7 separate regions of the Homo sapiens genome follow, and all the other regions are linked to region 2. Evidence: promoter capture Hi-C in 16 types of primary human blood cells and fetal thymus (Javierre and others, 2016). All regions are on one chromosome and are shown on one strand. The core of a region is centred on a gene start or on the middle of the fragment in contact, and the rest is flanking DNA. Distances in the headings are between cores, read along the strand shown. Region 1 overlaps SACS (sacsin molecular chaperone). Region 2 holds the start of MIPEP (mitochondrial intermediate peptidase). Region 3 holds the start of SACS-AS1 (SACS antisense RNA 1). Region 4 has its middle 21 kb from the start of LINC00327. Region 5 has its middle 17 kb from the start of SACS. Region 6 overlaps SPATA13 (spermatogenesis associated 13). Region 7 holds the start of LINC00327 (long intergenic non-protein coding RNA 327).

Region 1 (3,779 bases), core at 292-2,791, 500 kb before region 2:
CAAAAACACTTCCTTTGCATTCACAACTTGACTGTTTGTCACAAGAGGCCTGGCTTTCCTGTCTTGGCTTTCAACCTGCCTTCCTCACTAAGCTTAGTCATTTCTAGCTTTTGATTTCAGGTGAGAGACTTGCAACTCTTCCTTTCACTTGAAGAGTTAGAGGCCATTATAGGGTTACTAGTTGGCCTAATTTCAATACTGTTGTGTCTTAGGGAAAAGAGAGGCTGGAGGAGAGGGAGAGAGGCAAGAACAGCCTGTTGGTAGAGCAGTGAGAGAACATACCGTTTATCGATTAAGTTTACTGTCTTATTTGGGCACAGTTCGTGGCACCCCAAAACAATTACAATAGTGACACCATAGATTAGTAATCACAGATCACCAAAGCAGATATAATAACAATGAAAATGTTTAAAATATTATGAGAATTTCCAAAATGCGACACAGAGACACGCTAACGGAGCACTTGCTGTTGGGAAAATGGTGCCAACAGACTTGCTGGATGCAGGACTGCTGCAAACCTTCGATTTGTTAAAAACGAATGTCGGCCGGGCGCGGTGGCTCACGCCTGTAATCCCAGCACTTTGGGAGGCCGAGGAAGGCAGATCACGAGGTCAGGAGATCAAGACCATCCTGGCTAACACAGTGAAACCCAGTCTCTACTAAAAAACACAAAAAAAATTAGCCGGGCATGGCGGCGGGCAACTGTAGTCCCAGCTACTCAGGAGGCTGAAGCAGGAGAATGGCGTGAACCCGGGAGGCGGAGCTTGCAGTGAGCAGAGATCGTGCCACTGCACTCCAGCCTGGGCGACAGAGCAAGACTCCGTCTCAGAAAAAAAAAAAAAAAAAAAAAAAGTCTGTGAATGAAATAAGGTATTCCTGGACTTGCCATTCTAAGGGCTTCACTTTCACTACGAAGCTGGAAGACCCTGTAGAGATAAGCTGGTCCCCTGGTCACCCTGACCGTTTCTTTTTGGTCCTCATAGACGGCTGGTTTTTAAACCATTTATCTGGGAAGTTGCCATTCACCTGTGTAGGGTGGTGGTTTGAGTTCAGGTGATGCAGCTTCTGTGATATCAGGAGTTTACCCAATGGACAGCATGGTGCAGAGAATTCAGTTCCTTAGCAGGAACTTGCAACTTAATCTGTCCCTTAAACTTTTTTATTACAACATGATCTATGGATCCAGAGAATATGGCGGTGAGGTACTATTAAGTAATAATGTGTGTAATCATCAGAGAAATGCATATTAAAACCACAATGAGACACCACTGTACCCCAGCCAGAAAGGCCATTATTAAAATGTCAAAAAACAATAGATGTTGGCATGTATGCGGTGAAAAGGAACACTTACACACTGCTGATGGGAATGTAAATTAGTACAACCTCTACGGAAAACAGTATGGAGATTCTTTAAAGAACTAAAAGTAGATCTGCCATTCAATCCAGCAATCCTGCTACGGGGTATCCACCCAAAAGAAGAGACGTCATTATATCAAAAAGACACCTGCACACATATGTTTATCACAGCACAATTCACAATTGCAAAGATATGGGCCGGGAGCGGTGGCTCACACCTGTAATCCCAGCACTTTGGGAGGCTGAGGCAGGAGAATGTCGTGAACCGGGCAGGCGGAGTTTGCAGTGAGCCGAGATTGCGCCACTGCACTCCAGCGTGGGTGACAGAGCGAGACTTTGTCTCAAAAAAAAAAAAAAAAGAAAAAACAAAAGATATGGAACCAATCGAAGTCCCCATCAACCAATGAGTGGATTTAAAAAATGGTGTGTGTGTATATATATATATATGGTACATATAATATAAAATATATATAAAATATAAAAATATGGTGTGTGTGTATATATATATATATATATATACACACACATACCACAGGCTACTACTCAGCCATTAAAAAAACAAACAAATAAAATAATGTCTTTTGCAGCAAATTTGGATGGAACTGGAGGTCATTAATTCAAAGCGAAGTAACTCAGGAGTGGAAAACCAAATATAGCATGTTCTCACTTATAAGTAGGAGCTAAGCCATGGGTACACAAAAGCATACAGAGTGGTACAGTGGACACTGGAGACTCAGAAGCAGGGAGGGTGGGAGGGGGTTGAGGGATAAAAAACTACATATTGGGTATAACGTGCGCTACTCAGGTGATGAGTGCACTAAAATTTCAGACTTCACCACTACACAGTTTATCCAAGTAACCAAAAACCACTTGTATCCCTAAAACTATTAAAAATAAATAAATAAATTTAATATAGTATTTCAGGGTGATAAAATACCAAAGAATCAGAAACCAAAAGAAAGTATCATTTGCAAATACCAAATTTTAATCCATGTATTCAAAAAATACATAACATGAGTTTTCTATGGACAAGGCATGGAGCTGAATGTCTTACATTCTTTATATATTTATTAATAAGATTTTAAATGGAAACTTGTATGTGTCAATTACCAAAGACACACCCATCTGTTAATTACTCCTTAGTACCCTCTACCATTTAGCTAAAACATATATGTGTGTGTATATATATATGTGTGTATGTGTGTGTGTGTATATAGCCTGTGTATATATATAGCCTGTGTCTTTAAGTTACAGGAAGGCTTTAAATAGTTACTGTGCTCCTGAAATGATGTGAAAGGTTACAGCTTTATTAAGTTGCCCAATACTTATTAATGCAATTTTAGAGTTGGTTTTATAACTAGGAACTGAATGTCTACTAATCAGCATGACTACAAAATAAAATTCAGAATTGTAAAAAAATATATATATATTAGTAACATGTGGATATAAAGATGATTTATTTCTGCCCACTGACCAGGGTCACTGGAAAAGGCAAACACTTAGAAAGTCGTCTTTACATCCACGTTACTAATTTTACTTAATATGGTATCTGCAAAGTACATGTGCTCTACTTGCCAAACTTCAACCTCCGAATTTAGAAAGATCTTATTCTGTGTCTCAGCTGAAAGTCTGAGCTAAGCTTTCTCTAATTTAAAAAAAGGACGGAATACGTGTACAAGGGATACGTAGTACATGATTCTCTTTGAAGGACACATTTGCTTCCATCCTCTATGCAGATAAAAGAACAAATTACAATGTCTAAAATCTGTTCTTTTTGTATTCTGCATTTAGCCATCATTTTCTTCTACTGTGAGAAGGATCAGTTCTACTCTTTCTGCTTTTTGCTTCTTTTTGCAGGGAGTTGGGGGATGGACAAGGGAGCATTTTAATTTTACATCAAAATGTCAAGTTATTTGGCTGCATCTACATATGCCAGAAGTCACAATAATATGCGACCACTTTTATGCAGCTTTTCTGATATTTATATTTCCTACAATTATGGAGTTTTATATTTTCTACAAATTTTCAATGGATTTGGTTTTTTTTCTATTCACTCTACAAGGGTTTAAAAGTTATTCTTTCTACAGGGTATAGAATTTATTATTTCTATAGAACCTATTTTACTTGGTCTAGGAGCTTCTGTAGGCTTCAAACTGTGTTTGGCTCTGAAAAGAATTAGTGCTTTATTTCTGCAGTATTTTTCTTCTTACTACTGTTCTAAATCACAACATACTAGAAGTAAGAATAACTTATAGTAAAGGTTCACACATAGATCATTTTTCCTGATTAATTAAAAAAAAATCTTCAGTCTGTTTGACTCCAAGTTACCATTTCTACATGGGATTCCACCCCTAAGAGATTTAACAAATGAGATCATTTAAAATCCTGGCTGGGCACAATGGCTCACACTTGTAATCCCAGCA
Region 2 (3,657 bases), core at 964-3,463:
TTACAAAGACATTTCAATATCTTGATAAAAACAAAAATCACTGATCTAATGGTAATGACCATTCTCTTGTTACCTATTCAATCACACTTGTTAGCACACTCAGGAAGGCAGGGGGAAAAAGCATTTAATATGCACCTACTGCATACCATGAAGTGTGCCTGCTACTTTACATAGGTTCTCATTTAAATCACACAATCCTACAGAACAGAGTATCATTCTTTTACAGATCAGGCCACATGCTTTAAGACGTTAGAAAAAACTTGTTTGAGGTCACAAATTAATATTGGGAAAGACAGAACTCGAACCCGCTCTGTACATCTGTAAAGCCCACACTTTTCCATACTTCTCTATTACAATTTATCTGTTTGAAAGTCTTCTCTCCTGAAAAGGTGAGCTTCCAGACCCAAGAGCCCTGCCCTTCATTTCTTTAACCAGCTATCCAATAGAATGTCTAACACATGGGGGAACTCAATGAAAGAAACAAGTGACCGGAGCAGATGCTAGGCTTTGTTAATTCACTTTGTAGGTGCTTAACGCATAGATTTTCAGAAATACGAACAGGTAAACCTTCAGGCCTGACAAGCCCTACTGTTTCTACAAGAAGGGATGGATGAAGTTAAGCTAGTAATCTCTCTTCAAAATATATTACAAGATAAAAAATAAAATAAAAGAAAGTCAGTGGGAGACAAAGGAAAATCAGGACCAAAAACAAATGTCATCTTTATACTGATTTAATTTGATTCAAGCACAGACTACTTCCACTTCCCAGTACAACCTGCCCATATTGCTCTCGGGAATTCTAACTATCGGATTACCAGTGACCATAATGCTAAAAAACTGAATAAGGCTTTTTTTTTTTCAAGGCAAAAATCAATTCTAAAATTTGAAAATCTGCTATCAGTGCCGAATATCATGATACAAAAAGGGAAAAATAAAAGCTAAAATTAGTTATATCTCATCCACCCAAAATCAGGCTTCCCCTCACGTCTTTCTGCTCAGCGCCTACAAGTAGGTCTCTTCACACCAACTATGTTAATACCAACACTACATACCCTTAAGGAAGGTGGTGTAGCAAATTTCACACAAAATAATTTTTAAATAGACAAAACTGATAATGGAGATAAAACAAGAATCACACACTTTAGCTCAGTGCAACAATACCCTAGACTTGTCTTTATAAGGCAATACAGTATAACGAAATTTTAAAAGGCAAAAATAAAAGTAATCCTTAACCTAAAACGGACAAAATGTACAAACTCCAAGTAGAACAGGCATCAGGTAAGTCCTTTCCAACCTTGCCTTCCTCTCACCTTTCACTAGACAACGCAGGCTAGTGACTTCCTGGGGTAAGAAATCAAAGTGACCAATTCCATGGCACTATGGGAAGTGAGACTCGTCTCAACAGAGTTTTGTGTTTTAAAACAAGAAAGCCCAAAGCTTTGAAATAAATTAATTAATAGATGATGGAATTTCAGGTATTAATGAAATTACCATTACTCGACTGCAGGCAGCCGTGTCCTTGCAAAAAGACCATGTGATGCCGCCTGTGAACGCACAGGGATAGGCCTCTTAAGGCAGGACTGTAGCGCTGGAGCTAAAGGGCTTTAGCAGGGGTGCGCCTGAGTGTATGCAGAGGGCGGGTCCTGGCAGGACGAATTCACCGCCACTGCCAGAACGAACTATTCAGATTCACGTGGAGCAAGGGGCTCATGCAGAAGCAGTTCCCGGACCCGACACTCTGGGTAGGAGACCACTAAACCCGGCCCCTCAAAGCAGAGGTGACCTTGCCCTCATCGAGAGCGCACACAAGACGCCACTGTAAAAGGTGGGTTCGCTGCTCGCCTCCTCCCAGGCCCAAACAATCTCGCCCTGATTGTTGCTGGCCGCGCGGAGCAGGGGTCGGCTTAGCTCGGGGACTGAGGGGAGCTCCTCCTGCGCCGCTCACCCGGCGCTCGCCGAACAGGTCCAAGCGGCTGCCCTGGGGCTTGACATTGAAGGCGGCGCCCACGGGAGACCAGCTGGTGCTGACCCTTCGGGCCCGGATCCCGGCTTCGAGGCTTCCCCGGCCCGCCCGGCGGGGCGGCAGAGCTGCTGCTCTGGCTCCCAAGCCGCCCAGCCTTCCGACGCACAGCATTCTAGCACCAGAGCAGTCCCTTCCTCCAACGCAGATCCCTGCCCTGCTGCTTTCGCTGGGAGCGCGCGCTCCGCGTTTCCAAGGCAGCAGCCCACGCCGCCCCACGTGACGGCCCCGCTTCCGGGTCTGGGCGCGGCCTCAGGACGTGGGCACGTTGTCGTCCAGAGAGCAAGAGCGTCGCTCCCCCTCGCCTTCTCGGCCGCCCTCCCGGTTTACCGCCCCCTGTGTCCAGAGTAAGAAAAGGCTAGGGTTGCGCTTCCCTCCCAAGTTGACTAGGGGTGGGCGCGAGTAAAATCATGACATATTCGAATTCCAGTGGACATTAGATATTCTTTGAGAGACGGCAGGTACTTGAGTAAACAAGAAATGCCCACCATAGGCCTGAAGGAGAAGTTTCCCTTTTAACCTACTCTCTTGGTAAATTTATCCTGCACTTCTCTGTTTGGTGTCTCTGTCCGGTAACTTTTTACTCTTGCATAGCTCAGTTAAAAATTTTAGATGGGAAATAGTGAAAGAAGTCTAATGGGATTTTCCCTCCAGGGTTTCAGAATTGCCTGGGACCCGTGAACCCTTTTTTCCTTCCCCTTTCTCTCTTTTGGAATGGATTGTCTACCCTATGCCTGTCTCCCCCTCCAACCCCCGGTCTTTTAGAAGTGGATTAACTCGTCTCGCTTCACAGGATCACAGATGGAGAGACATTTTGCCACACGATGAATCACACAGTAAGTCTCCTCTGTAGCTTATTTAAATGATGTAGATGGTGAGAGGAGTTGATGCGGAAAGTGTTAAGACTTTTGGTAATGTTGACATGGTGCGAAAATGTATTTTGCACATGAGAAGGAAATCAATTTTGGGAACCAGAGGGCAGATTGGGTTGAACTGTGTCTCCCAAAATAGATGCTGAAGTCCTAACCCTCGGTGCCTGTACATGTGACCTTATTTGAAAATATGGAGTTTGCAATTATGATTAAGATGGGTCATACTAGATTAGGGAAGCTGTTCTTGTAAGAAGAGGAAAATTTGGCTGATACAGGAGGAGGACAGCCACCTGAAGATGGAGGCGGGGACTGGAGTGATGCTGCCACCAGCTGCCAGAAGCTGGAAGCAGCAAGGCTGCATCCTCCTGTATCCCCTTTGGAGGGAGGATGGCCCTGCTGCTACGGTGATCTCAAACTTCCAGCCTACAGAACTGTGAGAAAGTCCGTTTCTGTTGTTTAAAGACTCCCAGTTTGTGTACTTTATTAGGGCGATCCTAGAAAACAAGTAGAGATTCATGTCTGGCAAATAATGATCAAACAATGATTTGTTGGATAGAATGGTGATTAAAACCTAGGTTAGAAAATGAGCAAAATGGGAGGGAAAGCACCAGGACAAATAGCTAATGCATGCAGGGCTTAATACCTGCATAGGTGATGGGTTGACAGATGCAGCAAACCACCACAGCACATTTTTATGTAACAAACCTGCACGTTCTGCATATGTATTCCAGAACTTAAAAATACATTTTTTAAAAAAAGACAAAA
Region 3 (4,171 bases), core at 1,130-3,629, 470 kb before region 2:
TTAACATTATACAAGATTTTTAGACATATATGTTTGTTTCCCTTGTATATAAATTCTCATCTGATGTTTCCACATTTGAGTGCTTCAGTATAGCACCCATTTCTTTTTTTTACCTTACATGGAGTCTTGCTCTGTCTCTCCAGCTGGAGGGCAGTGGCTGATCTCTGCTCACTGCAACTTCCGCCTCCTGGGTTCTAGTGATTTGCCTGCCTCAGCTGTCTGAGTAGTTGGGCTTACAGGCACCTGCCACCAAGCCCAGCTAATTTTTGTATTTTTAGTAGAGAGGGGATTCACCATGTTGGCCAGGGTGGTCTCAAACTCCTGACCTCAAGTGATCCCCCTGCCTCAGCCTCCCAAAGTGCTGAGGTTAGAGACCTGAGCCAGGGTGCCTGACCAGAATATCATTTTTTGATCTAGCATTGCATTTGTGACTATCAAGGTGCCCATGGGTTTGTCTCCATGGGCGCCGCCCTCTTCCTAGGAGAGTAGGTGGGGAGTTTCTGTGCCCCCTCCCCCACCACGGGAAACTTGCCCTCTTGCACACGTGGTGCGGAAGGCGCCATTTTGGCCCAGTTGGTGCTGAGTAAGATGTTCTCGCTTCTCTGCTCAGGGCATGAAGATCTGGGGCAGGTGCAGGACTTGGGGCCCCAGAGAGTGCCACAATCGACTGCCCGTGGGAGTGGGCTGGTGCCTGGGAGCAAGAGCGCGGCCGTCCGGCGCCTGTGTGAGCCGACAGGGCAGCTCCGCCAGGGAACCAGGGGCCCGTCCCTCTGGGGTCATGGGCGGACAGGCACGGGAGCTGAGAGAGGGGACCGGGCCTAGGCCACAGGCCCTCCAAGGAAGCCACAGAGCCAGCTAGTGGCACCCAGGGACTGCGGGAAGCTTCGGCAAGGTAAGCTCTGGCAGGGTAAGCTCGGGACCAACATGGGTTTTAGTGTCTTTTCCTAGTGGTGGGGAATTTCTACAAGGTGGGTAGGACGTGTTAAGGGTGGCCTTAGCAATTTGTAGGCCTAGAGGCCGTCTAGGAGAGGCCTGCAGTTCAGAGTCTCAACAGGGCTTGATGGGGCCTGCCATTTCATTTCGCAATGTGGTTCCTAATGTTTCTTGGGAAACCGGGCGTGTTATGTCTCCATGTCACCCTTTACTTCTTGGATTTCTTGGTGTGCGTGGTTGCCTTTTTCTCTTTTCTTATATTGCAATTTCGGGTCCCACATTTTCTTCCATTCGAATCTGTGCGTCTTCTATGCAAAGCCTGTGGTGGGTCTTGCTCTCGGACTAGTTGAGCAGCATTGCACTCGTGTTGGTTGTGGGAGTTTCATCGTTTCTGTGTGTGTTCAGCATTCTGTTGCGAGTTCCTTATCTTCAGAATGATTGAGAAATGTAGTTTTCAGTTTTAAAGAATATATATTCTTTGGGGAGGTGATTTTATTGCATTTGGCCAGAGAATATGTGACCATTCGGTCACTGAGGACTGGTGTGTACCCCTAGGGACGCAGTATCCACCTGGAGACTGGGTGTCCCCATGGAACCTGATGTCACTCTGGGCCTAGCTGCCCACATGGGTCCTTGGTGTCCACCTGGAGCCTGATGTTCCCCAGGGACCTAGGTATCCATTTGGGTCCTGATGTTCATCTGGGACCTGGTGTTCACCTAGGGCCCGATAGTCACCGGGGGACTGGGTATGTACCTGGGGCCTCATGTCCACCTGTGGTGTGGGTATCCACGTTGGGCCTGTGTGTCAATCTGGTGCCCCATGTCCACCTATGGATTAGATACCCAACTGGGGCCTGCTCTTCATCTTGGACTTGGTGTTTACCTGGAACCTGATGTCCAGATGGGGCATAGATTATCTATGTGGGGACTGGTGTCTAGATGGGGTCTGACAGTCAACTGGGGCCTGGCCTGGTATTTTCCTGAGGTGTGACTGTGAACCTGGGGACTAAAGTCTACCTAGAATCCAGTGTCTACCTTGGGCCTAATGTCCACCGGTGGCCCAATGTAAATCTGGGCACTAAAGTCTACCTAGAATCCAGTGTCTACCTTGGGCCTAATGTCCACCTGTGGCCCAATGTAAATCTGGGGACTAAAGTCTACCTAGAATCCAGTGTGTACCTTGGGCCTAATGTCCACCTGTGGCCCAATGTAAATCTGGGGCCTGGTATTTAGCTAGGGCCTGGGTATTCACCCAGGGCTTGATTTCAGCTGGGCCCTGAAGTTCTCCTAGTGCCTAGTGTCCACCTGAGGCCTTGGTGTCAGTCGGGAACTGGATGTCCACCTGGGGCTTGAGTGTTTCCCGGTGCCTGAGGACTTCCTGGGCCTGGATGTTCACATGGGACCTAGATTGAACCTGAGGCCTGATGTTCATCAGGAGCCCAGGTATCCACCTGGGGAGTGGTGTCCACCCAAGACATTTGGAGTCAAGTGTCCACTTGAGGCCTCATGTCCACCTGGGGCCGGATTGTCCATCAGGGACCTGTTTTTGACCAGGGACCTGGGTATTTACCTGGGGCCTCAGTGCCCACTTGGGGCCTGACATCCACTTGGGTGTTGGTGTCCACCAGGAGCCTAATGTCCACCAGAGTCCTGGGTATCCTCCTGGCACCTGGTGTCTGCCTGGGGCCTGGTGTCCACCTAAAGTGTGGGTATCCACCTAGGACCTGGTGTGCACCTAGGGCCTTTGTCCACCTTGGGCCTGTTGTTCCTCTGGGGCCTTGTGTCCGCCTGGGCCCTGGGTGTGAGCGTGGTACCTGATATCCACCTGTGGCTTCCATAGCCACCTGAGGCCTGGTGGTCATTTGAAACCTGGTGTTCTCCAGGGGCCTGATGTCAACCTGAGGTGTAGATATCCACCTGGGTCCTGGATGTCCAGCTGGGGCCAGATGTCCAGCTCTGGTCTAGGTATACCCCTGGGGCTTGATATTCACCAGGGGTTTAGGCATTTACTTGGCACCTAGTTTCCCTGTGGAGTGTGCCGTCCCATGAGGATTGACATTCAGCTGGGGACTGGGTATCTACCAGGGACCTGGGTATCCACCTCAAGCCTATTGTACTCCTGGAACCTGAGTATTTACCTGGGGTCTGATATGCACCCAGGCCTGTTGCCTACATAGTGTCTTATGTTCCCCTTGAGCCTGAACGTCCGTCTGAGTCCTCGGTATCCTCTGTGGGATGGCTGTCCACCTGTGACATTGTGTCCTGCTGTGGCACGGATGTGAGCCTGGTGCCTGATATACATCTTAAGTCCAGTGTCCACCTGGGGCCTGATGTTGACCTGGGGACTGATGTCCACATGGGAACTGGGCATCCACCTGCGGCCTGATGTCCACTGGGAACTGGATGTTGCCCTGGGGTCAGGGTATCTACCTGGAGCGTGGTGTTCACCAGGGGCCTAGGCATCCACCTGGGGCCTGTAGTCTACCTGGGGCTTCCTGTCCACTGTGGCCCTGGTATTTACCTGGGGCCTGGACATCCACTTGAGGCCTGAAGTTTAAGTGGGGCCTGGTGTTCAACGGGGGCCCATGTGTCAACTTGGGAACAGACATGCACCGAGATGCCTGATATCCATCTGGGGCCTGGTTTCCACCTGGGGCCTAGTATTTACCTACGGCCTGGGCGTCCACCTATGGTGTATTATCTAAGTATCTAAGTAACAACGTTTGAGAGGTTATTAGGCCTATATATGAACATGCTACTAACTAGAAAAAAGTTATGTGCAAAGGAGCTTTGTGATGTACCTTATTATATTGTTGAATGGAACGTAACTTTTCATTAAACAAGTTCCTAACACATTTTATAGAATCTAACAAATGAGATTTCAGAGGCCTATATATAAACATGAAAATTCAGCCCAATAACTAAAAACAAGCCATGTGAGAAGAAGCTTTGTGATGTGCTTTATTATATCACTGAATGTAACCTGTGTTTTTATTAAAGAAGTTCCAAACACACATTTTATCGTTTTATACAACCTAAGGAATGACATTTCAGAGGCTGTTAGGCCCACATGTGAATATACAAATATTCATCCTTAATAACTAAAAACAATCTGTGCATGAAGAAGCTTTGTTATGTGGTATTTCAGATCACTGAATGAATGGAACCTGTGTTTTTATTAAACAAGTTCCAAACACACGTTTTATAAAACCTAAGGAATGACATTCCAGAGGCTATT
Region 4 (3,757 bases), core at 837-3,336, 400 kb before region 2:
GCCTCCCAGTAGCTGGGATTACAGGCTCCCGCCACCACGCCTGGCTAATTTATTACTATTATTATTATTATTATTATTATTATTATTATTTTTGGTAGGGACAGGGTTTCCACATGTTGGCCAGACTAGTCTTGAACTCCTGACCTCAGGTGATCCACCCACCTCGGCCTCCCAAAGTGCTGAGATTACAGGCGTAAGCCACTGCGCCCAGCATTCCCTTTCACATAAAATGCTACGTGAATGGTGGTAATAAAACAGTCAGAGCGATTCCATGCAACCCAACAGATAACGTGGTTTGTGCATTTTTTCTATCCATGAGGGAATGAGAAAGGCTATTCCTGCCTTTCCGTCAATTCCATTCAACCAAATATTTCCCATTTTAACGTGAAATCAGACCTCTCATGGGTTGGTCTGTTGTTGGAGTGACCACACTCACTTACTCCACTTGCTCCGAGGTTCCTCTCATTACCTGAACATGCACACGGGGCCCAGCAGGCACTGAGGAAAAGGTTGAGTGGCACTTGTCATCTGCATGCCTCCCAGGTGGGTCCTGCTCAGGGAGGAGTGTCCAATAACCTTGGTGACAGCCACAGCCTGGCAAGATTCATGCCGCAGACAACACGGTGCCCGAATCCCTTCCTTATAATTCCCCAGGCATGGGGTTAGTAGACAAAGCCAGTGAAGCTGATAAGAGAAGCAACATGTAAAAGGGGAGGGCACCACGTTGTCCCCTAAGACAAGAATGGAAATGGTTTAATGAGTTTGTTACTTACTATCTACATGATGTTAAAACCAATCCAGGCAGGGCAAAATAGGTCAGAGCCTTTTCACAAAGCCAGTACTTTGTGTAGTGAGATTTTAAAGACATTACCCTGTCAGTGAGAGAGAGAGAGCTACAGTTAGACAAACATGATAAGACAAAGAGCTAAATATAAAATAAAAAATGCAGATGTGAAATCATATTTGCAAGTCTTTCTTTTGCTGTCAGTAGTTGGTAATTGGTTGTAGCCACCCAGATGCGAGTCAGATACATACAACCGTAAGTACCACTTAAAATTTCAGTGGCTAAAGAATCTTGCCAGAAAGAATTTTTTAGTCAAAATTCCTAAACATTTCTCATTGTGCCAAAACGTACATATTTGCTTATAATATATCAAAATAAAAATGAGAATTTCCTTCATTTCTGGTGTTGTGAAAAGTTCCTGATAGATATCTCATGGAGACCAGGTTCCAAGAGCATTTCCTGTGGCCTTACTGCAGACAGCAGATCATTTCAGCCTCCACTCAGGCGAATGCTTAGTGGCTGGGAGTGTGCACGCTCTGGTTCAAGTGCAGTGAGGGTGGGGTACTAGACTCACCACTTCCTAGCTGTGGGGTGTTACTCCAGGCCTTTAAACTTTTATCAGAAACTCAAGCCTTCAAGCTTTCATCTCTTCCATCTCTGCACCTCACAGGACTACCATGAGCTTAAATGAGAGCACACATAAAATATGGTAAGAAACGGGTATGATTATTTTTCCTATTTTATAATTGAAGGCACTGAGGCCAAGAGAAGTGAAGTGGCTCCAAGTCACAAAGCCTTGGGTCACAAAGCTGGGATCTGAAGGCAGACTGTCAATAGTAAGGTTGTTATACACAGTAAATGAGTTAATTCATGGAAAGCTCTTAGGAAAGCCTTGGTTATGAGAAAGCTCTCAATAGAGATTAGCTGTTTTATTATGACTTCATTCGCTTTCACGCTATTTAAGCCTTTTCCTTTATTTCACTTCAAAAATGAGGGCTTGGTGGGGCTGGGCGCAGCGGCTCATGCCCGTAATCCCAGCACTTTGGGAGGCCGAGGCGGGTGGATCATGAGGTCAGGAGATTGAGACCCTCCTGGCTAACATGGTGAAACCCAGTCTCTACTAAAAATACAAAAAATTAGCCGGGCATGGTGGCAGGCACCTGTAGTCCCAGCTACTCGGGAGGCTGAGGCAAGAGAATGGCGTGAACCTGGGAGGTGGATCTTGCAGTGAGTTGAACTTGCGCCACTGCACTCCAGCCTGGGCGACAGAGCGAGACTCCGTCTCAAAAAAAAAAAATGAAGTCTTGGTATATGTGTTCACATAGTCTCTAAGGCTGTACATTTTGAACTTGTTCCATTTCTCTGACCTTGTAACCCAGGCTTTTGGGAAAGCTGTATTCTCCAGCGGATGTGAAATAGAGATGGCAGTAACAGTAACGTAGATATAAAAATAACTCTTCCAAGTGGATCAAGTCACTGGTGAAGGAATGCATGTAAATCCTTGCAAGCCTCTTGGGCAGTCTGGTTGCTCACTAAATGTTTTTATTTAATGAAACTTGATGGTGATTTTTAAATCTCATCCTTTTAGGGTTATGTACCCCATAATAAAGGAGAAATGATGTATGGACTTTTTTTTTTTTAACAAAAGAATGAAAGCCCGATTTATAAAGTAAACATTGATGGCAAGGTTTACATAAATGGAGCAATCTCTCCTACATAAAAGGAGAGATTGCGGTGGAATTAGGTATGAGGGATGGAGAATCTCTTTCCTCTGTTCACCATGGCAGATACAACTTGTGCTGTTCCCGGCTGTTTTTTGAGGTGCCATAAGGATCAAAACAGCAATCTGTCAGTAAGTTGGTAAGTTCCATGGGGCCAACCTAAGTTTGATCCCAGCTTCCACGGTCACTAAGCCCAGGACTGTGGGCAAGTTTCCTCATCTGTGATATGGGGATAATGACAGCACCAAGCTTTTAAGTCTGTGTGGGGATTAAGTGAGATAAATGCAAGAGAGTGTGAGAAAAGGGCCTAGGATGAAGCATGCATTCTACCTATTGACTATTAGTAGTATCCATCCTCCTTATTAAAGCACACTAACAACAAAGCTATTACATGAAGACACATAAAAGCAAACTTGAAAGAGATGGCAGGAACTTCAATACTCCAGTGGCAGGAGGCAGCCTCTGTGCTCACACTGACTGCCAGGTGCCCGTGAAATAGCTACTTCCAAGAGCTGGTAATAGAGTTGAAGCGAAACTCCAGCTCCAGTACCTCCATTTCCTTAGAACTAAAATGTGGAACGTGGCTGGGTACGACAACTCCGGCCTGTAATCCCAGCACTTTATGTGGCCAAGGTGGGAAAATTGTTTGAGGCCAGGAGTCTGGGATCAGCCTGGGCAACATAGCAAGACCCCCATCTCTATTAAAAAAAAATCTTAAAAAAATTAGCCATGCATCGTGGTACACGTCTGTAGTCATAGCTACTCAGGAGGCTGAGGTGGGAGGAGGCTGAGGTGGGAGGATTGCTTGAGCTCAAGAGGTGGAGGCTGTAGTGAGCTAAGATTGCGCCACTGCATTCCAACCTGGGTGACAGAGTGAGACCCTCTTTCAAAATAGATAAATAAATAAAATGTGGAGCATACAGCTATAAACTTTCTAAAACTGAGCGTGTTACATTAAAATGGGAATTATACTTTTGAAACTACTTTTAAAAATGCTTGTATTCTTAGAAAAAGACCATTTTAATGCAGTTCAGATGAAATATCAGAAACTTTTCATGAAGAAACCATCAGAATTAAAGAATGGTATTTGATTATGATATGATTGCCTAATAATTATTGTTTGCTTGGGTTTTTTTTTTTTTTTCCAGAATCCTATTTCTTTTCTTTTCTTTTTCTTTTTTTTTTTCTTTGAGACAGAGTTTTGCTCTTGTTGCCCAGGCTGGAGCGCAATGGCATGATCTCGGCTCACCAC
Region 5 (3,936 bases), core at 743-3,242, 440 kb before region 2:
AGGCTAGGCCGGCATTTTTGTCACAGGCTGATCTGCCGACCACAAGTAGACTTTCTTCTTCAAGGGCTGCTTTTTAGGGCCTTTCACCTGTTTGAATCGGGCCCACCCAGATTATCTAGGATCATCTCCCTTACTTAACGTCAACTGCTCTTGGACTTTAATCATATCTACACAGTATCTTCACAGCAGCCCCTAGATTACTGTGGGATTGAATAACTGGATGGTAGACTCACCAAATTGAATGTCAGAAAACTACTGCACTCTTCCTCAGCTCTTAACTCCAGAGGGGCTCTTTAATGCAGCCATGCCAGAAGTCTATGCCTTCTTCTTTCTTTTTTTTTTTTTTTTTTTTTGAGACGGAGTCTCACTCTGTTGCCCAGACTGGAGTGCAGTGGCGTGATCTCCACTCACTGCAACCTCCACCTCCCGGGTTCACGCCATTCTCCTGCCTCAGCCTCCCGAGTAGCTGGGACTACAGGCGCCCTCCACCACACCTGGCTATTTTTTTTTTTTTTTTGTATTTTTAGTAGAGACAAGGTTTCACCCTGTTAGCCAGGATGGTCTCGATCTCCTGACCTCGTGGTCTGCCCACCTTGGCCTCCCAAAGTGCTGGGATTACAGGTGTGAGCCACCGCGTCCGGCCAAGTTCTGTCCTACTCAGAAGTTACTGTTCCTGCCAAAAGCTTTGACCATAACCTTGTAACTCAGTGTCCCCATAGGAGCACAAGACTTAGAATCCAATACGGACTTGGTTATGAGGAGAGAGAGTACATCCAGAAAAACCCTGCAAAGCTGTGGATTAACAAGGGAATGTAGAAATAATCCTCTAAGGCCGGGTGCAGTGGCTCATGCCTGTAATCCCAGCACTTTGGGAGGCCGAGGCGAGTGGATCGCTTGAGGTCAGGAGATTGAGACCATCCTGGCCAACATGGCAAAACCCCATCTCTACTAAAAATACAAAAATTAGCCAGGCGCAGTGGTGGGTGCCTGTAATCCCAGCTACTCAGGAGGCTGAGGCGGGAGAATTGCTTGAATCCGGTGGAGGTTACAGTGAGCTGAGATCGTGCCATTGCACTCCAGCCTGGGCGACAGAGCGAGACTCCATCTCAAAAAAAAAAAAAAAAGAAAAAAGAAAGAATCCTCAGATTCTCTTCATCTGCCCACTCACTGCAGTCAGTTTTTCAACTAAAGAATGAAAAGATTCTTTTGCATCCCTTTCCTCTTCTCCCAGGAAGGATGGCTTTGTGTAACTGACAACTGAGGTCCATGGACAACAATGTACTTGTTTTGCAAGTCTAAAAACAAAGAGTTGTTCCCCAGGGGGAAGGGGGCAAACTGAATCACTCTACCAGAGTTTTCTGTGTAAAATTTAAACAAAAGGTTGCAAGTTGGCAGCAATTAGCATGGAGGCAAGAGCAAACACACAAAAGAAGGTTGGGAAGAAAGATGGGGAGAGCCGGAGAGGAAATGGCATCACCAAATGGCCAAATTGTGTCGTTTGAACAGTCAAACTAAAGCCAACCACTGCTGGCCCCTGGACCTACACTTCTGTAAGAGGAACACTGAGATTTCACTGGGGGAAAGCCAATTTTCATAGTTTTTCTATTAAGAATAAGAAATGTGGCCGGTCAGACAAAAGCAATACCTGCTGCAATGTCTGTCCTGCCTCCCTCAGCGGACTGCTATATGAATTAAATGTGGTAATGGACACCTATAAGCAAGTTTCTAAAAGAAGGAGTTTTAAGGTAGTGGCCAGCACAGTGCCTTGCACAGGAAAGCTGTATGGGAAACGTATGCTTAATTGTACTTAATTATTAATACACCACAACATGCATTAAGCAAATGGTTTATTGAGGAATTTTTGTCTTTTCCTCACATAAGAGCAAATAAATATTTGAAATATTTGGTTTTTTATTCATGAAAACTGATACATTTGATTTTTTTTCATAAAAACACTATTGTTTGAAAATTCACCGTTTTCATTTAAATATGTATTTCCACTTACGGAAAGATTTTAAACAATGAGTTAAGCAAGTTATAGCTATATTTGTAGCACTATGCTAGTCCATCAAACTTGAAAAATGCAGAAGTTACTTTGAACAATTAACTTGCTGGCTCACTTTGCTTAAACAAGGAGGAAACTGTGGATCTATAAAACTGGAAAAAATTATGTTATGCCCCAAGTGAACTTTTCAAGGTCATCAAAGACCATCTCTCTGCTTCAGGGCAGCGTAAATTGAAACCACCCATGAGAGATGAGTGTCAGCCTCGCCTGTCATGCCACCTGCTCCTCATTAATCAGAAATGACATCTGGAGGCAAACGTGCCCTCTCAAATTCTGGAAGGCATTCTGGTGCATGATGACAGCATTTTTCCTTTGATCACGAAAGAGAATTGTACTTATTCAAGTTTTGCAAGAGCGGATTATGACTTCATGTGAACTATGGAAAACTGCCTCCTATTCTCTTTTATACCATTAAATAAGCCTTACTTGTTTGTAAAGAATTGTTTGCCATAATAACTGAACTATTACACTTTATCACTTTTAGAAAGATTAACATTAATCTGGAGGCAGCTGTCACAGTGATTAAGCAGAGAGACAATTCCTTGATTGAATGCCCAGCTTCATCCCTTAGCTGGGTGACCTTGTGCAAATTAACTACACTCTCTGTGTCAGGATTCTCTCATCTGTCAAGGGGAGTGTATTAATCGTGTTTTTTGTTATTTTCTGTATTTTATAATGCTTTGACACGTTGGGGGCCTTGCTGGCCAGGGAGAGACCGCCCCTCCCATGGCTAATTCCTAGAGAAAGCTAACAACTTGCCCCTGTGCATGCCTTTCATATGCAAACCAATTAATCCAAAGTCCATGTCTCCAACCACCTCCTTTATCACATTTGCACACACCAAGCCAGTATTTCTTCTATCCTAAATCACCCCAGGACCAGGCCCCAGACACCTAGAGACCTCCCCCACAGCCCCAAGCACCCAGAAATCATTCAAAGCATGCAATCCCAAATGTGCTCCAACTTGCCTCCCCTGCCTCACCTATTCCTTCCCACAAAAACTTCAAGGGCTCTGGGCATGTTTTCTTCTTCCCTCCTGCTGAACCCTAGCACTTCCCGGGTGGCCCTGCACAGCTTGGCAACTGTCAGTCATGAAACCCCTTTCAATGGCATTGGCCTCTCGTATGGATCACTCAGTCCCCTTCATAAATTAAATTCTGGGTGCAGGTGAAATGGGGATGTATTGATGGTTCCCACCTCCCGGTCTGGGATGAGGATAAAGCAGTTTCATGCCTATGAAGCTTGCAGAACAGCCCCACGTGGCTCCCCTCCAGGGTCTAGAATAAGCCCTCTCTGCACTGCACTGGCCTAGGCCCTTCTCATCTGTCACCTGACAGCCTCCCTGACTCCCTATTTTGCCAGTTCTGTCCTCCTTAGAATACTCATTTTCCTTCTTTCTGATTTGCACACTCCTCCCTCCCAAGAGTCTGTCACTGGTTGACCATGACCAAGACCATCGATTTCTCCCAGAGGTCCTGAGCCTCGCCCATGCACCCATCTCCTCCTTGCTGTGCACTCACACCTGACCAATGTTGATTTGTTGGAAAGTGCATAGCCAGCTGACAGTAGCATTATCTTTAAATGCAAGCAAGACATTCTTTTTTTTTTTTTTTTTTTCAGACAGAGTTTCACTCTTACTGCCCAGGGTGGAATGCAACAGCGTGATCTCTGCTCACTGCAACCTCCACCTCCTGGGTTCAAGCAATTCTCCTGCCTCAGCCTTCTGAGTCGCTGGGATTACAGGCGCCTGCCAACACGCCCAGCTAATTTTTGTTATTTTTAGTAGAGATGGGGTTTTGCCATGTTGGCCAGGTCTCGAACTCTTGACCTCAGGTGATCCACGCACCTCGGCTTCCCAAAGTGCTAGGATT
Region 6 (3,658 bases), core at 1,051-3,550, 340 kb after region 2:
CACATGTTTCTAGTTGAGTTGGGACCCTGGCTCTATTATTAAAAGATCCCTGGCAACCGGGGCAAACTGTTGAACTTCTCCTGCCGTGGGTCTTCTCAAGGGTAGGATATGGAGTAACTTCATCTGCCCCTGGGGATGGTAAGAGCCAGTGAAATTATGGATGTCAAACACTTAGCCCGCCCTTTGACACTGACTGCCCACTGTGTGGTTATCACTGTTTAGATGATTTTTCCATCCTAGATTGACATGGCTTTTTAAGACAGGGACGTTAAGGTCGGTTCTTTCCAGAACTCTTTTTCAATATAACACTGTTACAGTCTTACAGGGGATGGAGAAGTTCTTCAAACAGTTAGTTTGACATCATGCTACTTAAAAAAAAAGCATAAGAGTTAAGTTCCTGCATAATCCAACATTTATATTTTCATGAAACCATGTCCCCAACCAAATTTGTTGAACACATGTCAGATACAAGAGACCAGTTAGGTATGACTCTATAGGGAATGTGGTGATGCCAATGAAGTTGTACCTGTGCCCAGATACACTTAAAACATAGGAGAACTTGATGGATTCAATTCCATAAAAGTGGTAAAAGCAAAATGCTATGGGTTTCAGAGGACTTGCAGTTCTCACCCATGTACCAAATCAAGGAAGGCTTCATAAGGGTGACTGAATCTGATTTGAAGAAGGAGGATTTCTACAGATGGTTATGGAGAGGACAGGGGCATTTCAGTGAGGTGTAGAGTAGGTTGGGCATGTGTGCAGAGATATTCTGTGATTGGAGAGAACAGGAAGTAATGTAATTTGGTTTGATATAGAGGAATAATCCAAGTTAAGATGGAATCATTAAGCAGAAGTCAAACAGTGCATAAGGAATTGTCATGTACCTCACCACTCAACACCTGCTATGTGAACAGAAGGGGTTGAAACAAAAAGAAGCTGTCTGTACTCTCATGGGTTCAGAGCCTAGCTGGTGAGAGGAATGTGTGCAGGTCATTATGATGTAGTGGTAAGGGCTCCTCATGAGAATGCAGTAAGTGCCGCAGGAGCCCCAAAGGCGGCAGAATGAAGAACTCTGGCTGGAAAGTGGCAGAATTGGGGAGGGACAGTGGAGTGGGGTCTTTAGTGCCCCGGGCGGCGGTTGCAGAAGGGCACTGGACTTCCAGGCTGGCGGGAAGAGTGTAGAACAGGAGGCAGATGCCCACATCTGAGCTCAGCTCTGCTGCTTACCAGTTCTCGACCTTTGCTAAACCTCATTTTCCTTGCCTGTAAACTGTGGGTGATAAGTGTCCCGACCACATAGGATCGTTGTGCAGATTAGCTGAGGTGATGTGTGGACTTAACATGGGGCTTTGTATATAAGTTTCTAGCAAAGTGATGCATCTATTGTGCTCAGGGAGCTGCAGACGGCTTGCAGAACTTCTGTACAGGGTGGCTGGGTGGAGAGGAGGGAGATCAGGTTAAGCAGTTAGGTCTGGACATCATTAGGAAGGGCCTCGCTTACAGCTGTGAATTTGGACTTTACTCTGTAAGTGGTGGAAAGTCAGTGACATTGTCAGGGCAGGGACTCAGAGGGACATTCCGTGGCTGGGGTTGATCAGACCAGCTCTGTAGAGAGGTCTAATTTGCATAACATCAACTCACCGGTTGTAGGTATGCAGTTTGATGATTTTTGGGAAATGTAGTGTGTGCAGCCACTACCACCGTCCAGCTAAAGAACACTTGGCTCCCCCCAGAAGGCTTCCCCACGCCTTTTACCAATCCCTGTTCCCACCCAAGACTAGGCCACAGCTGATGGGCTTTGTGTCTACACCTTTTATTAAGCGAACAATTCAGTGATTTTTATATGTTTATGGAGCTCTGCAGCCATCACCACAGACTAATTTTAGCACGTTTTCACCACCCCAGAAAGAAGCCTCGCGCCATTTGCAGTCACTTTCTGTTCCTAGCCCCAGCCTCAGAGCTATTTTTTGTGTCTATTATTTTACTTTTCTGGACATTTCATAGAAATGGAATCCTGTAATACGTGGTCTTTTGTGACTGGCTTCTTTCACTGAGCAAAACCTTGTTTTCAAGGTTTGTCCATAGAGCATGATCAGTGCTTCCTTCCTTGTTAAGGCTGCGTAATATTTCAGTGCATGGCTATCTATACCGCACTTTGTTATCTGTTCATCTGTTGATGGAGATGGGTTGTTTCTGCCTTTTTGCTATTATGAGTAATGCTGCTATGAATACTTACATACAAGTCCTTGGGTGGAAATATGCTTCCTTTCTCTTGGGTGGATACCTAGGGGTGGAATTGCTAGGTCTTGTGACATTTCTATGTTTAATTATTCGAGGAGCTGCCAAGCTGCTTTCCAAAATGGCTGTACCATTTTAGATTCTCACCAGCATTGTATAAGGGTTCCAATTTCTCCTCATCCTTGCCAGGACTTGGTATTGTCAGTATTCTGGACTCTAGCTATTCCAGCGGGTGTAGAGTGGTATTTCATTTTGGCTTTAATTAGTATTTCCCTAATGACTAATGATGTTGAACGTCGTTTCATGTGGTTATTAGCCATTCAAGTGATCTGATTTAGTGAAGTGCCGATTCAGATCTTTTGCTCATCATTTCATTGCATTCTTTGTCATCCTTTTATTGAGCAGTTAAGGTTTCTTTATATTTCCTGGCCACCTGTCCTTTATCAGATAATATGATTATTCAGGGTTCTCCAGAGGACGAGAACCAATAGGATACATATGAAAATCGGCTGGTGTGATTAAGGCCAAGTACCAAGATCTGCCATCTGCAGCCTGGAGAACCAGGAAGCCAGATGTGTAGTTCAGCGTGAGCCTGGAAGCCTGAGGACAAGGTGATGGGGTGGAGTGCTGGTGTAAGTCATGGAGTCCGAAGGCCCAAGAACCAGGAGCTTCAGTGTTCCTGGGCAGGAGAAGGTGGATGTCTGCCAGGAGAGGAGGGGAATCCTGGACTTTTGTCCTATTTGACACCTCAAGGGATTGCAGATGCCTGCCCACATCCTTGAGGGCAAGTCTTCTTTACTTTACTGATTACTGATTCCAATGCCAGTCTTTTCTGGAAACACCCTCACAAACGCACCCAGAAATAATGCTTTATCAGCCTTCTGGGGATTCTTTCACCCAATCAAGTTGACACATCAAATTAATAGGAATTACAAATATTTTCTCACAGTCTGGCTTGTCTTTTAAATTTTTTAATATTTTTCTTTTTTGAGACAGGGTCTCACTCTCTTGCCCAGGCTGGAGTACAATGGTGCAATCACAGCTTACTGCAGCCTCAACCTCCCAAGGTCAAGCAATCCTCCTGCCTCAGCACCACCCCCACCCAGTAGCTGGGACTACAGACACACAGCACCACACCTGGTTACTTTTTGTATTTTTTGTAGAGGTGGGGTTTTGCCATGCTCCCCAGGCTGGTCTCGAGCTCCTGAGCTCAAGTGGTCTGCCTGCCTCGGCCTCCCGGAGTGCTGAGATTACAGGCATGAGCCACCACTCTCAGCCCAGTTTTATAATATTTTTTAAAGAGTCAAAATTCTTAGTTTTGATGAAAATACAGTTACCAAATTTTTGTAGTTTTCTGTAGATCTGAGAACTCTAAGATTACAAAGATTTTCTTCTGTGTTATTTTCTGGAAGTTTTATCA
Region 7 (4,174 bases), core at 402-2,901, 420 kb before region 2:
GGGCATGGAATGCATTGTCAACTTTCTGTGGGTTTATCTGGACCTAACCCCATCATAAGTCAAGGAGCATCTGTAGAATGGTGGTTTTTCAGGAGCTAGGGGAAGGGGAATGGGAAAATGTTGTTTAATGACTGTGGAGTTTCAGTTTTACAAGATGAAAAGTGTTCTGGAGTGTGGCTGCACAATGGTGTGGATGTTCTTAACACTGCTGAAGAGGACACATACAAATGATTAAGATGGTAAATGTTTTTATGTGTATTTTTACCCCAAATACTTTTCAAAAAATATCTTGGCTATTATTTATCTCCTTATATATATGTCTTTTTTTGTTTGCTAGCATATAAATCTCTCGGAGGCAGAAAACATGTCTGAAATCTACAGCATGTAGATTTCATACAGGGCACAGTGGTTGACCAGTAATGAGTTCCTGCAGGAGGGGACCCTTCCAGTGAATGTAGACCTGGAAAATGAGATTGTCCTATTTATTCCTCTGAATATTCCCCAGCATCTATCACAGTGCTCTTTATAAAGTAAGTGCTCGGTAAACGTTCATTCGTGGTGATGCTAAGGACCGGAAGGGTCTTTAACCTTTTCTCTCCCTCCTAGCTCAGCCCTCACGGAACCCTAAAAGCTGGCTAAGGGGCCATTCTCCTCGCCACCTGGGCCTGCGTCTGCCGAATCGCTTCCTAAGGACTTTGACTAGAAACCAAAGGTCCCATTTTTCATCTGCCATTTATTTATCATTGCATAACTTAGGTAAGTCCCTCCGCCTTCACTGTCAGTTCTTCACTCATTGTTTTGCATCCAAGGAGTCTGGAAATAAGCGGGAACACCCTGCACGTGAGAGGGGCCCTGAAATTCACGAGGGGCTGGGGCTTTGCGTTTATTCCTCCAGTTCCGCCTGCAGCAACCCTGACGATCGAGCAGGGCCCGCGGGGGAGCGAGCGGAAGCGGGCAGCGTGCGCTGCTGTCCCGCTACCCAGCCCGCTAGGCTGCGCAGCTGCGTCTGCGGGCGGGGAGCCGGGGCGGCCGTGGGCTTCCTCCGGGCGCGGGCTGACGGCTGCCGCCTGTGGGCGCCCCAGCCCTGCAGCCGAGCGGGAGGGGCGGACCAGCGGGTGTCGGGAGCAGGCTGCAGCGGCCAGGCCTCTGCGGCTTCTCGGAGTACTGGGTCCACTGGAGAGCGAAGAGCCGCGGCCGCCAGGATTCCCAGCAGCGGCCGCGTGTTGAGAGCCTAGAAGTGGCCCCGAAGCCGTGCCTTTCCCGATAGCCAAGCAGAAGTAGGACTTGAAGCACCGAGGCTGGGATGCCCATGCTGGTGACGCCTTGGGGCTCGCAGTTATACTTGGTGACCGGTCTACACGGCGATTCGGTGCTTTCCGGAGTAGCAGATTCATCTATCTTTAGACCCACCTTCGTCCTTCGGCGGTTTAGCACGGCCTGCGCTTTCCTGCGAGCCCTGCTGTCACCCGAACAGCCTGATGACTTCACGCTCAACCACTGGAGGGCACAACCACATCATTTTTAAAAAATAGATTCCTCCACTTAAAGGACATGGTTTTGGGGGAAAGAACATTTAAAAAATGTAAAAAGATATATATCTATATCTATATATCTATCTCAGATTGTTCTGATATAAACTCAGGTGGGATTCTTCAAAACAGGAGGCTGTTCCAGTCTCTTCATTTTGCAGCTGAGAAAACGAAGGCCTTGGAGCTTGAGAACTCCAGTTGCCCAAGGCACACAGGTGGTGGGTAAGGAAGCTGATCATGTCTCCAAAGAATCCTTCCATGACCCAGGAGGATCCGGTGGGAGAGCAGGGCCGTCCACAGCTCAGCTAGGACACAAGAAGGCCCGGGGTGGCAGGAGCCCCACTGTGTGCTGCGGAGGATGGCAGAGGAAGTCAGCATTGTCCCGAAACTGCAGGATCATGTGATGTGATGGGAAAAAATTATGAGTACAAGACACAGGAAGAGCAGGTCACGGAAACACATGGTGCCCAGAAGGGCTTAATTAGTAGCAGCTGTGCGGGGTGATGCACAGAGTGCCCCAAGGGTGTCCTGAGTGAGGGTGGATGTCCCCTGCCCTCTGGCTTCGTGAAGGCTTCGTGAAGCCTGCCGGGTCACCCTTGTTTTCATGGATAGCTTCTTTAGGACACTCTCTCCACCAGTAATTGACAAAGTCTGCTTCTGTTGAGTGTCTGATAAAGGATTGAGTTTACATGATTGTTAAGATAGGATCATGAAAGAAGACAGAAGACGGATGTGAGTGGCCCTCAGAAAAAAAGCATCAAAGGAAACTGAGGAGTCTGTGTTCCGAGTTATAACATCAGTCCTGTGTGTAAGTGCTGAGTTTCAGCTCTGCCCAAGGCTAGGGGTTGCCTAGTCGGCTTCAACTGTAAGCTCCTAAGGGACAGTGCTGCCCCTTGAGATGACTGGGCAGCCATCAGCTTCATGCTAGAGGCTTTAAAGCAAACCCAAGATGGAGTCTCAGTACTGATTATTTGGGCCAGTGCCTTTCTTAACATTTCACGGATATATTCCTTTATTTTATTTGTTGTATTTTAGTACAGTTTTGCTCTATTCAGTCATGGTCATTCTTAGTTGCTGTTGTCTTTGTAAACTTATTTAATATCTTTTAAATATTAAAAGATTAAATAAATTATTTTCTAATAAATTCTTTTAATATTAAAATATTAATTTTTGATAAGAACCTTGTTTACTCTCAAGATTAATGTAGTAAATAAAGAAGACTAAAAACTTCAGAGACTGAAAGCTGCTGAGAATGTGTAAGAGAAACCTGGTTGTCAAACGCAATCCTGATCTTTTATCAGGCATCTGTATCAATGTGGATGATCTAACCGTGGTTAACTTCATGAAGAAGGAAGATATTTGATTTTCATCTGTTTAAAGAAACAATCTGTTTCTTCTAAAAGTATATACTCTAAAACACAAACCACTTGGCTGGGAAATAAAAGATGGTTATGCTTTATCATTTATATAAGCCTGGCCTTTCTCCAAAATGATTTTGATATAGCTTACAACAAAAAACGTGTTAGGCTTAATAAAAGAAGAATGGAAATGGAAACTAAGGATCAACAGAAAAGAGTATCACAAATACGGTAATACTAGCATATGGTAATATTATTTCTGTATTTGAGTGTAAAACGTGGCTGTGAGCTTCCTGGAGGCCAAGGCAAAAATAGAGACAAGAGCAACGTGCATAATATCATTAGCAGACAGAAAGATCATGTGACTTTTTAATTTTTTTCCCGGAAACTGAATCTAAAAAGAATCGCTCTATATAATGACTCATATATATGGTTTTAAGTGAAAAAATGATGAACACTGTCCTCCATGAGAGTTTTGGCACAAATTGAAGGAGGTAAGAACTGATATTGAAGCACAACTCAGTGAAGTTAATCCTGTCAGGCTAGGTTCACACAAGAAAACTTCTGACAAAATCCTAGAATTCCGGCAAATGCAGGCATGGAATGAGAGATTCCTATTCCATCTGCCTCGTTGTGCCTGGGGCCAGGCCTGAGTGTTGAAGACAGCTTGTTCCAATGTAAGATCAAATGAGATTGTTCATAACAGGAGTCTGCAGGAATATGGCACCTCTGATTTGAAATGATGGATGATTTTCATCAGCCGTGTATCTGCTTCCTTGGCAGCACCCCAAGTGCAGACCCCAGGCTGTTTCAGTGTGTCATCTGGCAGGCCCAAACAGAGGATGTCTCAATTGTGCATGTGTAACACAGCTTTAATTCATAATTTCATTTCTGGATGGAATTTTGAGCAGATGGGCATTGCTGTCCTTTTTAATGGTAAAAAATCAATGAAAGACACCGTGGTTTTGAAATTAATGAGCACTTGAAAAATACCAGCTTTGTTTGGCTTTGCGTTTTCTTTTTTCCTCTCCTCCTAAGTTGTTTGCAGCAAAATATTCAATTGAAAACTCAACATGTCCACTGCCTCCCAAAAAAAAAAAAAAATTCTGTGGAAAGTCTCCACTAACAGGAAGAGAGAAGTTCTTCACAGTTTGGTTTTATTTTTCAATGATAGTCATTGCCTCATTTTTAAAGCATTTATAATAAATTAAGCAAGTAACACTTGTGTACCAGTTTCTAATCAGTTTCTAATGTGCCTGGAACTTGCTGGGCTACAAAGAAAAGGAT

What was found. The method cuts DNA at HindIII sites, captures the fragments that hold promoters and counts their contacts. A CHiCAGO score of 5 or more calls a contact.
Region 1: a fragment that was not itself captured here is called in contact with the fragment with the promoter of MIPEP in region 2 in 5 of 17 cell types (fetal thymus, naive CD8 T cells, non-activated CD4 T cells and 2 more); the score reaches 9.7 in fetal thymus.
Region 3: a contact is called between a fragment that was not itself captured here and the fragment with the promoter of MIPEP in region 2, in 9 of 17 cell types (endothelial precursors, M1 macrophages, fetal thymus and 6 more). The highest score is 6.9, in endothelial precursors.
Region 4: a fragment that was not itself captured here is called in contact with the fragment with the promoter of MIPEP in region 2 in 6 of 17 cell types (M2 macrophages, total B cells, erythroblasts and 3 more); the score reaches 7.7 in M2 macrophages.
Region 5: a contact is called between a fragment that was not itself captured here and the fragment with the promoter of MIPEP in region 2, in 9 of 17 cell types (M2 macrophages, erythroblasts, non-activated CD4 T cells and 6 more). The highest score is 8.5, in M2 macrophages.
Region 6: a contact is called between a fragment that was not itself captured here and the fragment with the promoter of MIPEP in region 2, in 2 of 17 cell types (fetal thymus and naive CD4 T cells). The highest score is 5.9, in fetal thymus.
Region 7: a fragment that was not itself captured here is called in contact with the fragment with the promoter of MIPEP in region 2 in 16 of 17 cell types (total CD4 T cells, naive CD4 T cells, fetal thymus and 13 more); the score reaches 19.6 in total CD4 T cells.

Annotation. Positions count from the first base shown.
Region 1 is chr13:23,386,635-23,390,413 of GRCh38, forward strand. All of the region lies in intron 2 of SACS (sacsin molecular chaperone), which reads right to left. Among named protein-coding and RNA genes, the nearest start is that of SACS-AS1, 30 kb to the right of the region's middle. The HindIII fragment of the contact is 2,903 bases long and covers 91-2,993 here.
Region 2 is chr13:23,887,187-23,890,843 of GRCh38, forward strand. It overlaps MIPEP (mitochondrial intermediate peptidase), which reads right to left and starts at 2,214. Exons shown (of 19, transcript NM_005932.4): 1 at 1,946-2,214. The coding sequence starts at 2,134. PCOTH (prostate and testis expressed opposite C1QTNF9B and MIPEP) reads left to right here and starts at 1,682. Exons shown (of 4, transcript NR_172510.1): 1 at 1,682-1,825; 2 at 2,814-2,856. RefSeq lists enhancers at 1,994-2,494, 2,554-2,613. The HindIII fragment of the contact is 13,692 bases long and covers 1,436-3,657 here.
Region 3 is chr13:23,418,410-23,422,580 of GRCh38, forward strand. All of the region lies in intron 1 of SACS (sacsin molecular chaperone), which reads right to left. SACS-AS1 (SACS antisense RNA 1) reads left to right here and starts at 562. Exons shown (of 2, transcript NR_103450.1): 1 at 562-892. The HindIII fragment of the contact is 2,998 bases long and covers 881-3,878 here.
Region 4 is chr13:23,489,096-23,492,852 of GRCh38, forward strand. No RefSeq gene overlaps it. Among named protein-coding and RNA genes, the nearest start is that of LINC00327, 21 kb to the left of the region's middle. RefSeq lists an enhancer at 3,398-3,757. The HindIII fragment of the contact is 1,331 bases long and covers 1,422-2,752 here.
Region 5 is chr13:23,448,236-23,452,171 of GRCh38, forward strand. No RefSeq gene overlaps it. Among named protein-coding and RNA genes, the nearest start is that of SACS, 17 kb to the left of the region's middle. RefSeq lists an enhancer at 391-1,230. The HindIII fragment of the contact is 2,623 bases long and covers 682-3,304 here.
Region 6 is chr13:24,229,333-24,232,990 of GRCh38, forward strand. All of the region lies in intron 2 of SPATA13 (spermatogenesis associated 13), which reads left to right. Among named protein-coding and RNA genes, the nearest start is that of SPATA13-AS1, 23 kb to the right of the region's middle. The HindIII fragment of the contact is 5,136 bases long and covers 1-3,658 here.
Region 7 is chr13:23,465,413-23,469,586 of GRCh38, forward strand. It overlaps LINC00327 (long intergenic non-protein coding RNA 327), which reads left to right and starts at 4,100. Exons shown (of 3, transcript NR_038995.1): 1 at 4,100-4,174. RefSeq lists a silencer at 881-1,160 and an enhancer at 1,271-1,430. The HindIII fragment of the contact is 5,622 bases long and covers 1-4,174 here.